Linked DNA regions of Homo sapiens: regions 1, 2, 3 and 4 are each linked to region 5. The links are contacts of gene promoters, found by promoter capture Hi-C in blood cells and fetal thymus (Javierre and others, 2016). All regions are on one chromosome and are shown on one strand. The core of a region is centred on a gene start or on the middle of the fragment in contact, and the rest is flanking DNA. Distances in the headings are between cores, read along the strand shown.

What was found. Contacts are between HindIII fragments. The CHiCAGO score rates a contact against its expected background, and 5 or more counts as called.
Region 1: a contact is called between a fragment that was not itself captured here and the fragment with the promoter of CSTA in region 5, in 1 of 17 cell types (monocytes). The highest score is 5.4, in monocytes.
Region 2: a contact is called between a fragment that was not itself captured here and the fragment with the promoter of CSTA in region 5, in 1 of 17 cell types (monocytes). The highest score is 5.0, in monocytes.
Region 3: a contact is called between a fragment that was not itself captured here and the fragment with the promoter of CSTA in region 5, in 1 of 17 cell types (monocytes). The highest score is 5.5, in monocytes.
Region 4: a contact is called between a fragment that was not itself captured here and the fragment with the promoter of CSTA in region 5, in 2 of 17 cell types (total B cells and erythroblasts). The highest score is 5.7, in total B cells.

Annotation. Positions count from the first base shown.
Region 1 is chr3:121,809,982-121,812,681 of GRCh38, forward strand. All of the region lies in intron 5 of IQCB1 (IQ motif containing B1), which reads right to left. Among named protein-coding and RNA genes, the nearest start is that of IQCB1, 24 kb to the right of the region's middle. The HindIII fragment of the contact is 1,387 bases long and covers 694-2,080 here.
Region 2 is chr3:121,777,451-121,780,150 of GRCh38, forward strand. The region is part of intron 13 of IQCB1 (IQ motif containing B1); the gene reads right to left. Among named protein-coding and RNA genes, the nearest start is that of GOLGB1, 29 kb to the left of the region's middle. The HindIII fragment of the contact is 3,795 bases long and covers 1-2,700 here.
Region 3 is chr3:121,793,871-121,796,570 of GRCh38, forward strand. It overlaps IQCB1 (IQ motif containing B1), which reads right to left. Exons shown (of 15, transcript NM_001023570.4): 10 at 1,587-1,696. Among named protein-coding and RNA genes, the nearest start is that of IQCB1, 40 kb to the right of the region's middle. RefSeq lists an enhancer at 1,087-1,136. The HindIII fragment of the contact is 655 bases long and covers 968-1,622 here.
Region 4 is chr3:121,619,045-121,621,744 of GRCh38, forward strand. FBXO40 (F-box protein 40) reads left to right here. Exons shown (of 4, transcript NM_016298.4): 2 at 1,502-1,534; 3 at 2,389-2,700. The coding sequence starts at 1,532. Among named protein-coding and RNA genes, the nearest start is that of FBXO40, 27 kb to the left of the region's middle. The HindIII fragment of the contact is 212 bases long and covers 1,345-1,556 here.
Region 5 is chr3:122,323,845-122,326,544 of GRCh38, forward strand. CSTA (cystatin A) reads left to right here and starts at 1,404. Exons shown (of 3, transcript NM_005213.4): 1 at 1,404-1,514. The coding sequence starts at 1,449. The HindIII fragment of the contact is 6,914 bases long and covers 1-2,700 here.

The sequences.
Region 1 (2,700 bases), core at 137-2,636, 510 kb before region 5:
CAAGAATCCTTTTATCCTTTTAGTTCAGGAAGCTACCTTTGCCAGAGTTTTACCTAAAGATACATCAGAAAGGGCATGGTAATTCTCATTGTTGTCAATCCCAAAAGATAGTGTTGTACTCTTAGACTTCCTACTTTCCTTAAAATGCACATTAGATAATGTCACCCACAAATTCATGGTTCTTGAGGCAGGTTAACAAAATTTACCTTTAAATCGAAATTCTCACATATACTCACACAAAACCACTTTGTATTTTAGGTCAGAACGTGTATGTCCCACCATATGATCTACTAACTATGTACTATCTAATTAAAACAAAAATCTGATTGAAAAGCTCCTAGGTAAATAGACTAATAAATTAATTCAAGTTTTTGCCACATCTTTTTTATGCCCCTGTTTTAATTTTGCCCTGTGGTTAAGTGGCCTTACTTTTTCTGTAGCCAATTAATTCTTGGATAACATTAAAGAATCTTTATCTCAATAAAAATACAATAATAAAGGACAGAAAAATATTATGAAAAGTATTAAGGATTCTATAAATGAAAATAATTAACTGAATAAGTATATTTATAATGAAAGTAATATACAAATACATAACATATTAATACATAATTTTAATAATATATAAGGAAAAAGAATTATTAATGCTCTTAAATAGGAATATTAAATAAAGGTGCTTTGAAGAAAAGATAAAGCTTACATAATGGTCTGAGCTATTAATGGGACAGAAATTATTTTACAAATGAGGAAAATGAGATACAGTGAAATCCAGTGATTTGCTATAGAACCTAGAGTTAGTTTGTGGCACAGCCAGCAAAAGAAATCAAATCCAACACAATTCCTATAGTTTATGTGGCTTCAACTAACCTGAATTAAACTAAATCTAGCAAATATTTATTTAGTGCTAACATCCCACAAAATGCCAGTGGAGATATCAGAAATGGAATTTGTAACCTGTTACATGGAACACATATGCTCTACCACTGAGTTAAATTCTCTGCCAGGGGGATCTGGCAAGATGGTTGAAGAGGAACAGCTCTGGTCTGAAGCTCTCAGCAATAGCAATGCAGAAGGCAGTGATTCTGCATTTCCAACTGAGGTACCCAGTTCATCTCATTGGGACTGGTTAGACAATGGGCGCAGCCCACAGATGGCAAGCAGAAGCAGAGTGGGGCATTGCCTCACCTGGGAAGTGCAAGGGGCTGGGGACCTCCCTCCCCTAGCCAAGGGAAGGGAGGGACTGTGCTATCTGGCCCAGATACTACGTTTTTCCCATGGTTTTTGCAACCCACAGACCAGGAGATTCCCTGTGTGCCTAAACCACCAGGGCCCTGGGTTTCAAGCACAAAACTGGTCAGCTGTTTGGGCAGACACTGAGCTAGCTGCACGAGTTTCTTTTTGTACCTCAGTGGTGGCTAAAACCCCAGCAAGACAGACTGTTCACTCCCCTGGAAAGGGGTCTGAAACCAAGGAGCCAAGAGGTCTTGTTCAGCGGGTCCCACTCCCACGGAGACCAGCAAGCTAAGAACCATTGCCTTGAAATTCTCGCTCCCAGCACAACAGTCTGAAGTCGACCAACCTGGGACAACTGAGCTTGGTGGTGGGAAGGGCATCCACCATTACTGAGGCTTGAGTCGGCAGTTTTCCCCTCACAGTGTTAAGGAAGCCACTGGGAAGTTTGGACTGGGTGGAACTCACTGCAGCACAGCAAGGCAGCTGTGGCCAGACTGCCTCTCTAGATTCCTCCTCACTGGGCAAGTCATCTCTGAAACAAAGGCAGCAGCCCCAGTAAGAGGCTTATACATAAAACTCCCATCTCCCTGGGACAGCGCACCTGGGGACAGGGGAGACTGTGGGTGCAGTTTCAGCAGACTTAAATGTTCCTGCCTGCCAGCGCTGAAGAGAGCGGCGCATCTCCCAGCACAGTTGATATACTGAATTTGAATTTGTTAGTGCTAGAGCTCTGCTAAGGAACAGAATGCCTCCTCAAGTGGGTCCCTGACCCTGTGCCTCCAGACTGGGAGACACCTCCAAACAGGAGAGCTCTGGCAGGAATCAGGCAGGTGCCACTCTGAGACGAAGCTTCCAGAGGAAGGAGGTGTGAGTAATATTTGCTGTTCTACAGCCTCTGCTGCTGATACCCAGGCAAACAGGGTCTGGAGTGGACCTCCAGCAAACTCCAGCAGACCTGCAGAAGAGGGACCTGTTAGAAGGAAAACTAACAAACAGAAAGCAATAACATCAACATCAACAAAAAGGACACCCACACAAAATCCCCATCCAAAGGTCATCAGCATCGAAGATCAAAGGTAGACAAATCCATGAAGATGAGGAAAAACCAGCACAAAAAGGCTGAACATTCCAAAAACCAGAACGCCTCTTCTCCACCAAATGATCGCGATTCCTCCCCAGCAAGGGCAAAAACTGGACTGAGAATGAGTTTGATAATTAACAAAAGTAGGCTTCGGAAGGTGGGTAATAACAAACTCCTCTGAGCTGAAGGAGCATGTTCTAACCCAGTGTAAGGAAGCTAAGAACATTGAAAAAAGGTTAGACAAATTGCTAACTAGAATAACCAGTTTAGGAGAACATAAATGACCTGATGGAGCTGAAAAACACAGCATGAGAACTTCATGAAGCATACACAAGTATCAATAGCCAAATTGATCTAGCAGAAGGAAGGATATAAGAGAATGAAGA
Region 2 (2,700 bases), core at 3-2,502, 550 kb before region 5:
TAAACATATATAAATGTAGAAAATGTCCAGTAAAAATATACCATTACAATATTATGTGACCACTGTTGTATATATGGTCCAACACTGACTGAAAATTCATTATGTGACACATGGCTGTAATTACCATTTCCAGTGCTCTTAATTTCTTTATGTAGAGCCAGATTTCTCTCTGGTATCTTTTCCTGGCATCATTTTAAACAGAAATGTTAAGTCTTTTACACCTTAAAGAACTTAACATTTCTGATTTACATTCACACCAACAGTGTGTAAGTGTTCCCTTTTCTCCACATCCTTGCTAACATCTGTTGTTTTTGACTTTGTAGTAATAGCCATTTTAACTGGTATAATATGATTATTTATTATGATTTTAAGTTACATTTCTCTGATGATTAGTGATATTGAGCATTTTTCATTGTTTGTTGACCACTTGTATATACGTCTGTTCATGTTTCTTGCCCACTTTTTTTTTTTTTTTGAGACAGGGTCTCACTCGGCCACACAGGCTGGAGTGCAGTAGCATGAACATGCCTCACTGCAGCCTCAACCTCCTGAGCTCAAGTGATCGCCCCACCTCAGTCTCCCAAGTAGCTGGGACCACAGACAGGCATCAACATGCCTGGCTAATTTTTAAATTTTTTGTAGAGACCAGGTCTCACCATGTTGCCTAAGCTGGTCTCGAATTCCTGGGCTCAAGCAATCCTCCTGGCCTTGGCATTCCAAAGTGCTAAGATTACAGGCATGAGCCACAGCATCTGGCTTTGCCCACTTTTTAATGGGGTTGTCTTTTTCTTCTTGAGTTGAGTTCCTTGTAGATTCTAGATATTAGCCCTTTGTTAGATGTATAGCTTGCAACTATTTTTTCCCATTCTATAGGCTGTTTACTGTTGACTGTTTATTTTGCTGGGCAGGAGCTTGCAATATAGGCATGTAAATGTGCATTTTTACTCCCTCAATCTACACAAATAAAAAGAATTTAACATTTCTGCAATGTTAAATCCTTTACAACTTTAAGGATTTAACATTTTTGGTAGTGCAAGTGTACTGGTGATCAAGTCTTTCAGCTTTTGTATGTCTGAAAAAGTCTTTTTTTTTTTAACAATATTTTTTTGCCAGGTACAGAATTCTAGGTTGACAACTTTTTTTCCTTTCAGTACTTTAAAGCAAGATATCTTTCGCCGGGGGTGGTGGCTCATGCCTATAATCCCAGCACTTTGGGAGGCTGAGATGGGTGGATCACCTGGGGTCAGGAGTTCGAGACCAGCCTGGTAAACATGGTGAAACCCCATCTCTACCAAAAGTACAAAAATTAGCTGAGCATGATGGCAGGCGCCTGTAATCCTAGCTACCTGGGAGGCTGAGGCAGGAGAATCACTTGAACCCGGGAGGCGGCAGTTGCAGAGATTGCGCCACTGCACTCCAGCCTGGGTGACAACAGCGAAACTCTGTCTCAAAAAAAAAAAAAAAAAGGTATCTTCTTGCTTGCACTGTTCCTACTGAGCAATGTAATCTTTGTCTTTACGTAACATTTAAAAATTTTTTTACACACCAACATGGCACATGTATACATATGTAACAAACATGCACCTTGTGCACATGTACCCTAGAACTTAAAGTATAATAAAAAGTATATATATAAAAATTTTTTTTTGTTTTTAAGATTTTCACTGTATCACTGGTTTGACAATTTTGATTATGATATTCCTTGGCACAGTTTTTTCCATGTACCTTAACTGGTTTGGGTATGGGCTTATCATTTTTAGTTTGGAAAGTTTTCAGCCATTATTTTTCTCTACATCTCCTTCAGGGATTCCAAGTTTTCATTTACTGGGCCACTTACAGTCCCACAGCTCAGTAATGGTCTTTTCAAATATTTTTCTCTTTTTTCCCCTCTCTGTGACTCATTTTGTACAGTATCTACTAGTATGGCTTCACCTATATTAATCTTCCATCCAGCAAAGTCTAATCTGCTATTATTTTGATCAAGTATATTTTTCACACCATACTTTGAAGTTTTTATCTCTAGGAGTTTGATTCAGGTATTTTTTTTTACATTTTTCATCTTTCTACTTGACTTTTTGAACATATAAAATACAGTTATAATGACTGTTTTAATGCCCTTCTCTGCCAATTTTAACATCTATGTAATTTCTGGGTTGGTTTGACTGAATATCCTCCTCATTATGGGTCCTGTTTTCCTACTTCCATGCATGCCTTTAATATTTGATTAGCTGCTAGACATTGTGACTTTTACCTTGTTGGGTGCTGGATATTTTGATATTTCTTAAAATTTTGAGTCTTTTTTTGGGATGCTGTTAAATTACATGAAAACATTTTAATCTTTTTTTGACTCTTGATTTTATAATTTGTTTGGCAGAATGGAGCCGTCTAGGCTAATCATAATCTACTATTAAGGGAAGGTCTTCCTGAGTACTCTTCACAATACCCTGTGAATTATGAGTTTCTCCAGCATATTTGATGGGAACAGATACTATTCCTGGACCTATGTGAGTTCCAGACACACTTCCGTCTTACCTTTTCAGATGACTCGATAATTTGGCTTTGGATAATTTCCTCACATGTACATGCTGATTAGTATTCTGGAGAATACTCAAGGGGTAGATTCTGTAGATATCTGGGGTTCTCTCTCTTTGCAGCTCTCTTTACTCAGGTACTCTGTTCTATGAAGTCTAGTTCCCTTGG
Region 3 (2,700 bases), core at 45-2,544, 530 kb before region 5:
TGAAAGAGAGAGTATATGAGCAAATTTGGGAACTCTTGTGGGACTAAACATTAATGCTCTGAATCCATGTATAAGGGTACCCTTAAATTTAAGATGACAGGTAACTAAGGATGATAGCAGGTGGAATCCATAAGTAATACCTACTCTATCTGAATTCACCACAGAGGCAATACCAAGAGCACCTCAGATGCTTTGGGTAGAAAAATATACACTGTGACTCAAAAAGTACTCAATATTTCCCAAATTTATCTAACCACAGAAATGCTTTTAAAAAAAAAACAGCTTGTAAGATAGGCAATAAACTTTGAGTAATAATAGATGGATAATACTTGCTTCTCATTAGTACTACCTATTTAATGCATCTATTTGTTTACCTAGATTTGTAAATTTTCAAGGACAGAAAATGTGCCATATGCATTTTTCCTTCTATCATTTTTTAAGTGCCAGATAATATGCTAAAAACTTTGTATTATCTCAAATTTTACATTATCTTGATCATACAAGTGTATAAACTATTATTCTCATTTTATAGATTGGAAGTTTGAGGCTGAGAGAGGTGGGGGATTGTCCAAGTTCACTCAACCAGTAAGCTGCTCAAGTGAGATACAAACTCGAATCTGTTAAATGCCTAGTACATATATCATATACTAGGCATTTGATATATATTTAAAAATTAATTCTTTTCTTTGCTACCAACAATATTCATGCCCAATAATATTTAAAATCCATCTTTAATTCTTCCCTGAAGAAAACGTTCATCAATTAATAGGATACCCACTAAGAGACACAGTTAGCTAGAGTGATTTCAATGTCTTCAACTCTGTGACTACATAGTATTTTGAACCCCAGAGCTATTTTTAAATGTTTTTATAACTGAGAAATGCATCTGCAGTTATTAAAAGAATAGTTTCAGTTTTCTTTAAAGAATTAACTTCTGTAAAATGCCAGTTTCATTTTAGCAAACTAAAGCTTGGCTTTAAGTTAGGCTGCATGAAAAAGTCACCTCTGAAACAGATCTTCTTTACCATAAATTACCTAGAAGCTAAGTTATTTTTTCTTGTTCTGTGACCTTGGAGGATCTGGATTGGTTAAGTCATTGCAGAAAGTGGGCTATGTCTTCAGTATTTCCTTTTCAGTCTACTTGAAATAAATGCCGAACTATATCATAATTCAATGAAGATATCCATCCATGCCATATTTATTCAGGAAAATCAGGTTAACAGACTTAAACTCTTATACGCATACATGTTATTGTTATAATTATACACACGAAATTATGATAACTGTTGGTTTAGAGGGTTTAATAATATAACTATCATTGGCTCCCTTTGTAGGCTTGGCCCCTCCCCAAATATCTTATTAAGTGGATAGGATTGCATATTTGACACATCAGATTCCTGTCTTACATCCTTTGCTTTGAAAGTGCATCTGGTTACTGGAGTGTTGGTACCCAGAAACGTATGGAAAAAAAATGAAAAGATAACAAGAAACATACTAGGAAATTAAAAAAAAATCACCTAAATTTCAATTCAACTGTACTCTAGTAAGATTCTATGATCATCAATCCCCTCACCAAATTTTTTTACCTGAAACTCCTCTGCAAAGCAATCACAGCAGATGGAAGCTTCTTTAATCTCTTTCTTGTCTGAAAACCCTTCCAATAGGCTTGAATCAAGCATGCTGCTTGATGTAGTTTCTGAAATGCCGAAAATAATTTAGAGATATCTCTAGGAAGGTCTTTAAAAAAAAAAAAAAGTTTACCTCTTAAAGTATCAGGTTAGGGCAAATATTAATCTCTAGCTCTAACAAGATGGGTAAGAATATTAAACCTTACCTCCCAAAGGAGGTATGTTAGGCTTGGTAAGGCAATTTCTAGAACATACTCAAGATATAGTCTAGTTAGCTCCAAATTCTCCCAGAATAATCTCACTTCCATTTCCTTTTCAAAGATTTCATAGTCCGCCTGACCTTTCATAATCTTTTTTGAGCTAACATGTTAATGTTTTTACTTAATAGGCAATCAACCTAGTTAGGTTCAAACTATAAGCTCTGTTGACCATTGTGGATGGTTGCTCGAATCTCTGTTTAGTTCTGTAAGCTTTTGATATGCTATTCTCCTGATAGACCATTGGGCTTAAAAGGTCAGTGAGCTGTCTGAGTTCTTGACTGAATTCTGTCCCAGTCTCCTGTTTACTTAATAGACTTCTGAGTCCTCAAATGGAATGGCAAAGGGTACAACTATTAATAATAAAATATAGTTTTATGATTTTGTTACCTAATCAATATGAATTTGAGCATATGCATAGTTTTGAGATTAATCTAAACTCACGATGGTTCATATATACAGAAAAAAGGAATTCCCTTCTTCTGCACTCTTCCTTCCAGCCTCCCCCAACCCATTCTCCTGCCTTACTGGACTTATTTTCATGGTTTCTGCTTGTATTTTTAAATTTATTGTCTTTTTGGTTTTGGATTTTGGATATACAATGTCCCCTTTTCCTTTTAAATTAAAAAATATCTTTAGTCATTTTAGATGTTTTCCATATTTAAGTCTTTATCTGGAAATCAGAAAGCAATATGCCTCTTCCTGTTGAATGGGCTATTTAGAGCCATCATTTTGAGTATGCTAGAGGAAGTATGATGAAATAATCAATAACTTGCTGCCTCAAATTTCTAAATAATTTTATTAATACCATTTCT
Region 4 (2,700 bases), core at 201-2,700, 700 kb before region 5:
GAGTGCAGTGGTGTCATTACAGCTCACTGCAGCCTTGACCTCTCAGGCTCAAGCGATCCTCCCACGTCAGTGTCACTCTCAAGTAGCTGGGACCATAGGCGTGCACCACCATGCCCCGCTAATTTTTTAACTGTTTTTTTTTTTAGTAGATACAGGGTATCGCTATGTTTCTCAGACTGGTCTTGAACTCCTGGGCTCAAGCAATCAACCTACCTCAGCCTCACAAAGTGCTGAGATTACAGGTGTGAGCCATTGCGCCTGGCCAAATTTTAAACTTATGGATCTTCTGACATTTGGATGCTAACCTCCCCACTCCATCACAGACTAACACTGTGCTGAAATTATGTTACAAATTCTGTAGACCAGATATTGCAAACTGGCAACCTACAGATCCTATCTGGCCAGCATTCACATTTTTCCTTGGCTCAAATAGTGTTGTTTTAAATTAAGTTAGTTGTTAACATTTAAAATTCAGAGTATTTTTATTTCGATATATTATGTAGTAAAATATTTTGCATTGTGATGAAATATAAAATACTACTTTATAATAGCAAACATGTATAGATCACTGCCTGTGAAACAAGCACTGTTCTAAGAGTTTCATGTATATTTAGGTCATTTACTCCTTACAGCAGCATTATGGGATAGGTACTATTATTATCCTCTCTCTACTGATGGGGAAACTGATGAGCGAAGAAGTGAAGTAAATTTCCCAAAGTCTCACAGCCACTGACTTGTAGCTCCAGGGTGGAAACCTGTGCAGTCTGCCTTCTAACCACTAAACCATATCACAGCTCACAAAAGTCCGCATCCCCACTGTCTCTGGAAAAACCAGGTCTGGCAACACATTCCCACATGGCATCAATTAACCAGGGCTGAGAAATTTCATTTCCCTGAAGACAGGGCATTTTCTCTTTCACTTGCCAGAGTCTCCATTCAGTCAACTTCTGGGACCTTTGGGGTTTTGACCCCTGCTCTAGCACAGCTGAATATACCAGGGGAAATGGCATGTTACAGATATTTCACAGACACCTATACACTGCCCCAGACAAAGTTAGATCTCAGACTAACCTCTAAGTGGACAGGAAGCCCCAGTGGAAGAGAAGATTAGAAGGTAACCTAGGCCAGATTGTGGGTAGCAGAGTGTTTAGGATGCCAGGATAATTGTCAGCAGACAATGGAGAAAGTTATAGGAAGCAGAAGTTAACATCCCATGATTGGTAATATGCCCTATCAGAGGGCAGCGGGGGTCAGTGAAAATAACATGGGCCAGCATGGCCTGGATTACAAAGCTGATTCCATCACTTAGCAGCTGTGTGACCTTGGACAAGTTACTTACCTTCAAGCTTCTGTTTCCTTGACTCAAACATGGAGATAAAGACACCTCCAGGATGGTGGAAGGAATTAAATGAGATAGTGTGTGAAGTCTCTTTAGCCTCTATTAATATAGGTAACCTAACTGTTTTTCTTACTAATTATTTATATTCATATTTTCCCGTAGAGCTAAGAAGCAAGAAGAAATTGGGGCGCCATGGTAAGCACCAGGAGCTTATTGAAGCTTCACCATTGAGAGGTCCAGGTCTTCCTTCATTTATCCTGTAGCCCAAGCAGCTAGCAGACTTGCTCTTATGGTTTGATGATATTTATCAACTTTTTTCCAAACTAGAGATGCTGAACAGAACTTGGAAGAAATTGACACAGAGTAAGGGGAAAACAGTTGAGAAGGATTTTTGAGCAAAGAGTTTAAGTGAAAATTTAAATAAAATAGTCAAAAAGCCAGCAATAATCTAAATGGCTAGCAATTCCTTCATTCAGCAAGCATTGAATACCCACAAAGGTCCAGGTCCCATGCTAGATGCTAGGGACATAAATGCGAGCAAAACCAGACATGGCTGCTGTCCTCCCAGCCCGCACTCTGGTGGTAGTTGATTAAATGATAGCACACCCATATTCCGGAATGTTACACTGCCATTATGAAGAAAGTTTGTAAAGAATAACTAATAAAACAATCTAGTTTCATGTTCTAATAGCAAGATAAAAAGCAGGATGAAAAGTTGTATTCATAGTATTATCCGTATGATATAAATAACCTGTAATCCACAACTCAAAAATAACAATTGTCAACAGTGTAGTCCATTATATTCAATTCTTTTTTTCCTATTCTAAACACATCTACTACATATATATAATAAACTATTGGAAAATTCTAAAAAGTACTTATAGTTGTTATTTCTGGATTGTGGGATTGTGATATTCCATATATTTCAAGGTTTCTACAAAAAGCAGGTATAAACAGGAAATATGTCAATTAAAACACAGTCATAGACATGCATAGAGCTTCTCCTCAGTATTCATTTGTTTTCTTCCCCCTGTCCTTGGTGTGTCCAGGGGAAAGCCCGCAGATCCCCGCCAGGGCACCACAGGCATTGTGAGGGATGCTTCAACCGCCACTGCCACATTCCTGTGGAACCCAACACCTCCTGCCTGGTAATAAGCTGCCACCTGCTCTGTGGTGCCACCTTCCACATGTGCAAAGAGGCAGAGCACCAGCTCCTCTGCCCTTTAGAGCAGGTTCCGTGCCTCAACTCCGAATATGGCTGCCCTCTGTCCATGTCCCGCCACAAACTGGCCAAGCACCTGCAGGTGTGCCCCGCCAGCGTGGTCTGCTGCTCCATGGAGTGGAACCGCTGGCCAAATGTG
Region 5 (2,700 bases), core at 154-2,653:
TCTCTTGACCTTGTGATCCACCCACCTCGGCTTCCCAAAGTGCTGGGATCACAGGCGTGAGTCACCGTGCCCAGCCTCCAATTATTTTTATATTTGTATGTGTAAAGAATGTCTCTGAAGGATACAGAAGAAGTTGGTGCCAATAATTGTCTCTGGAGAGTAGAAGGGTGTCTGAGGAATTAAGTGAGTGAATAATTCCTTATATTGTAAAGCCTGGTTCCTTCCAAACATTTTTATCCTGTGTATGTATTATATATTCCCAAAATTGAATAAAATAATATACATAAATATTCACACAATGTGGCCATTTTGCTTCTAGATAAGTTGTCTGCAGAAGCCCTCACTCATGTAAAAAGGAGAAAAAATGCAACGTTGTTTGTAAGAATGAAACACCAGAAACAACGAAAATCGTCATCAATAGAGAAATGAGTATGTAAAATATGAACTAGAATATAGCAATTAGATAGGTAGACTAAATAGATAGGTCTAGCATAAAATAGCATATCACAGTTAAAGGAAATGAACAGGATTGATCTATCTGTGGATTGATCTATGTGTATATCAACATAGAAAGGCTCAAAAACATGTTGAATAGAAAAAGGAACATAACATAGAATATATTTAGCATACAATTTAAGTGAAATTTTAAAGACACACCAAGTAAGACATATTTTAATTTTAAAGACACACATATAAAAATGGCCTGGAAGGATATTAATTCACCATGTACTTTGCCTTCTGGAAGGCAAGGTTGCGTGGGGTGTGGGGCTTCCTCCATATCTGTAATATTTTATTTCCTAAAAATAACTACAAAAATAAAAAACAGCAAGCAAATATGACAAAAGGGTTAAAAGTTTTAATTCTGAGTGATAGAAATATAGATGTTTGTTATTTTATTCTTTGTGTTTTACCGTATGTTAAACATTTCCAGATATTTAAATAAGAGTAAAGAAGACACATCCAGCCAAGGTCCTCCAGATAGATCCTTTTGCTTTCTTTCTAAAGTCAAGTAAATTCTAAACTAACCTTGACATTATTAGTAAGTTTTGCTTTAAAAAAAATAAAATTTTGTGTTAGAAGTTTTAAAACATTTGGAAATTCTAGTTGCGGCTTCAGATTTCATAATTCAGATGATGCAACAGGATGGAACCATTGTCAAAGAGAATGCAGGGACGTTTGATGCTTGTTAGGACATGACTCCTGTACTTGCCCATTTGTTCATCCTCCAACCCCTCTTTCTTCCAAATTCCATGTAGCATATTCTCTCCAGGAAGCAAGAAGACTTGCCTGGCGGCATACTCATTTTCCCCATGCCTCTTTGCTGTTTGTGGAAAATAAAGCATTCTATAGGCGGAGCTAGTGAACGCCTCTTTTAAAACACGAGTCTCCACACTTCCCTGTTCACTTTGGTTCCAGCATCCTGTCCAGCAAAGAAGCAATCAGCCAAAATGATACCTGGAGGCTTATCTGAGGCCAAACCCGCCACTCCAGAAATCCAGGAGATTGTTGATAAGGTGAGTTGATGCCATTCAGGAAAAAGTCTGAGCCAAAATCTTGATTCATAAGTTGTCCCTGTGGAAAGGCTGTGGTTGAACATGAAAACCAGAAGTTTAGGATGTTTGTGGCTTTGTTCAGGTTTCTTTACAACTAAGATGAAATAAGAGTTTTTCAGATGAAGCCTCAAATAATCCCCAAACTGTGAGTGTGACCTTGAGCAAATCACATTTCTTCTCTGAGCTTCATTTTCTCCATGGGTAAAAGAATTTGTATTGTATCTTCTCTAAAGCTCTTACAAGATATGATTCTAGAATTACTAATTCAGTTTCTGATGAAACTTTTCTAATCTCACCAAGTGAAGCCAACGTGTAATTGAAGTCTAAGGTTATTAACAATTTGATGAAGTAGTCTTGGAATGCACTGCAGGGAAAATTTTTTTAAATAGATTGAATGAAGAATAATATTGTAAAGGCAATCTACTTACAAACTTCATACACTTTTGCCCAAATAGATAGTGTTTTAGTCTTTTCATAGTTAAAAGGTAATTCAACTAATAGAACAGAGGTGACAGTCTATAGTGACTCCGAAATGTCATAGGGCACCAAATTATATATGGAAAAATAGAACTCAATGTTGTTAGCAGATTGATGTGTTTTTCACTTCTTCTTTTTTGTTTTGTTTTGTTTCATTTTTAAGAGATGGGGTCTCACTCTGTCACCCAGGCTGGAGTGCAATGGTCTGATCACGGCTCACTGTAGCCTCAACTTTTTGAGTTCAAGCGATCCTCCCCACTCAGCCTCCTGAGTAGCTGGGATTACAGACATATGCCACCACGCCTGGCTGATTTGGGGGGTTTTGTTTTGTTTTGTTTTTAGAGATGGCATTTCATTCTGTTGCTAGACTGGTCTTGAATTCCTGGGCTCAAGCCATCCACTCACCTAGGCTTCCCAAAGTATTGGGATTACAGGCGTGAGCCACCACACCCATCCCTGATATATTTTTCTTTGTGTGATTAGCTATCATCTAGCTATGTAGTAAACATTTATTTGCATATTTTATGAAAGGAAAACATGTACAAATTACTACTTTAGGTTTTTAGTTTGTTGCCTTATTTTCTTATATTATTCCTTCTTATTTTTTCTCTCTGAAACATCATTCTATGACAGCTTGGAAAACAAGATCAGCTTTTTGTGTGATTATAAG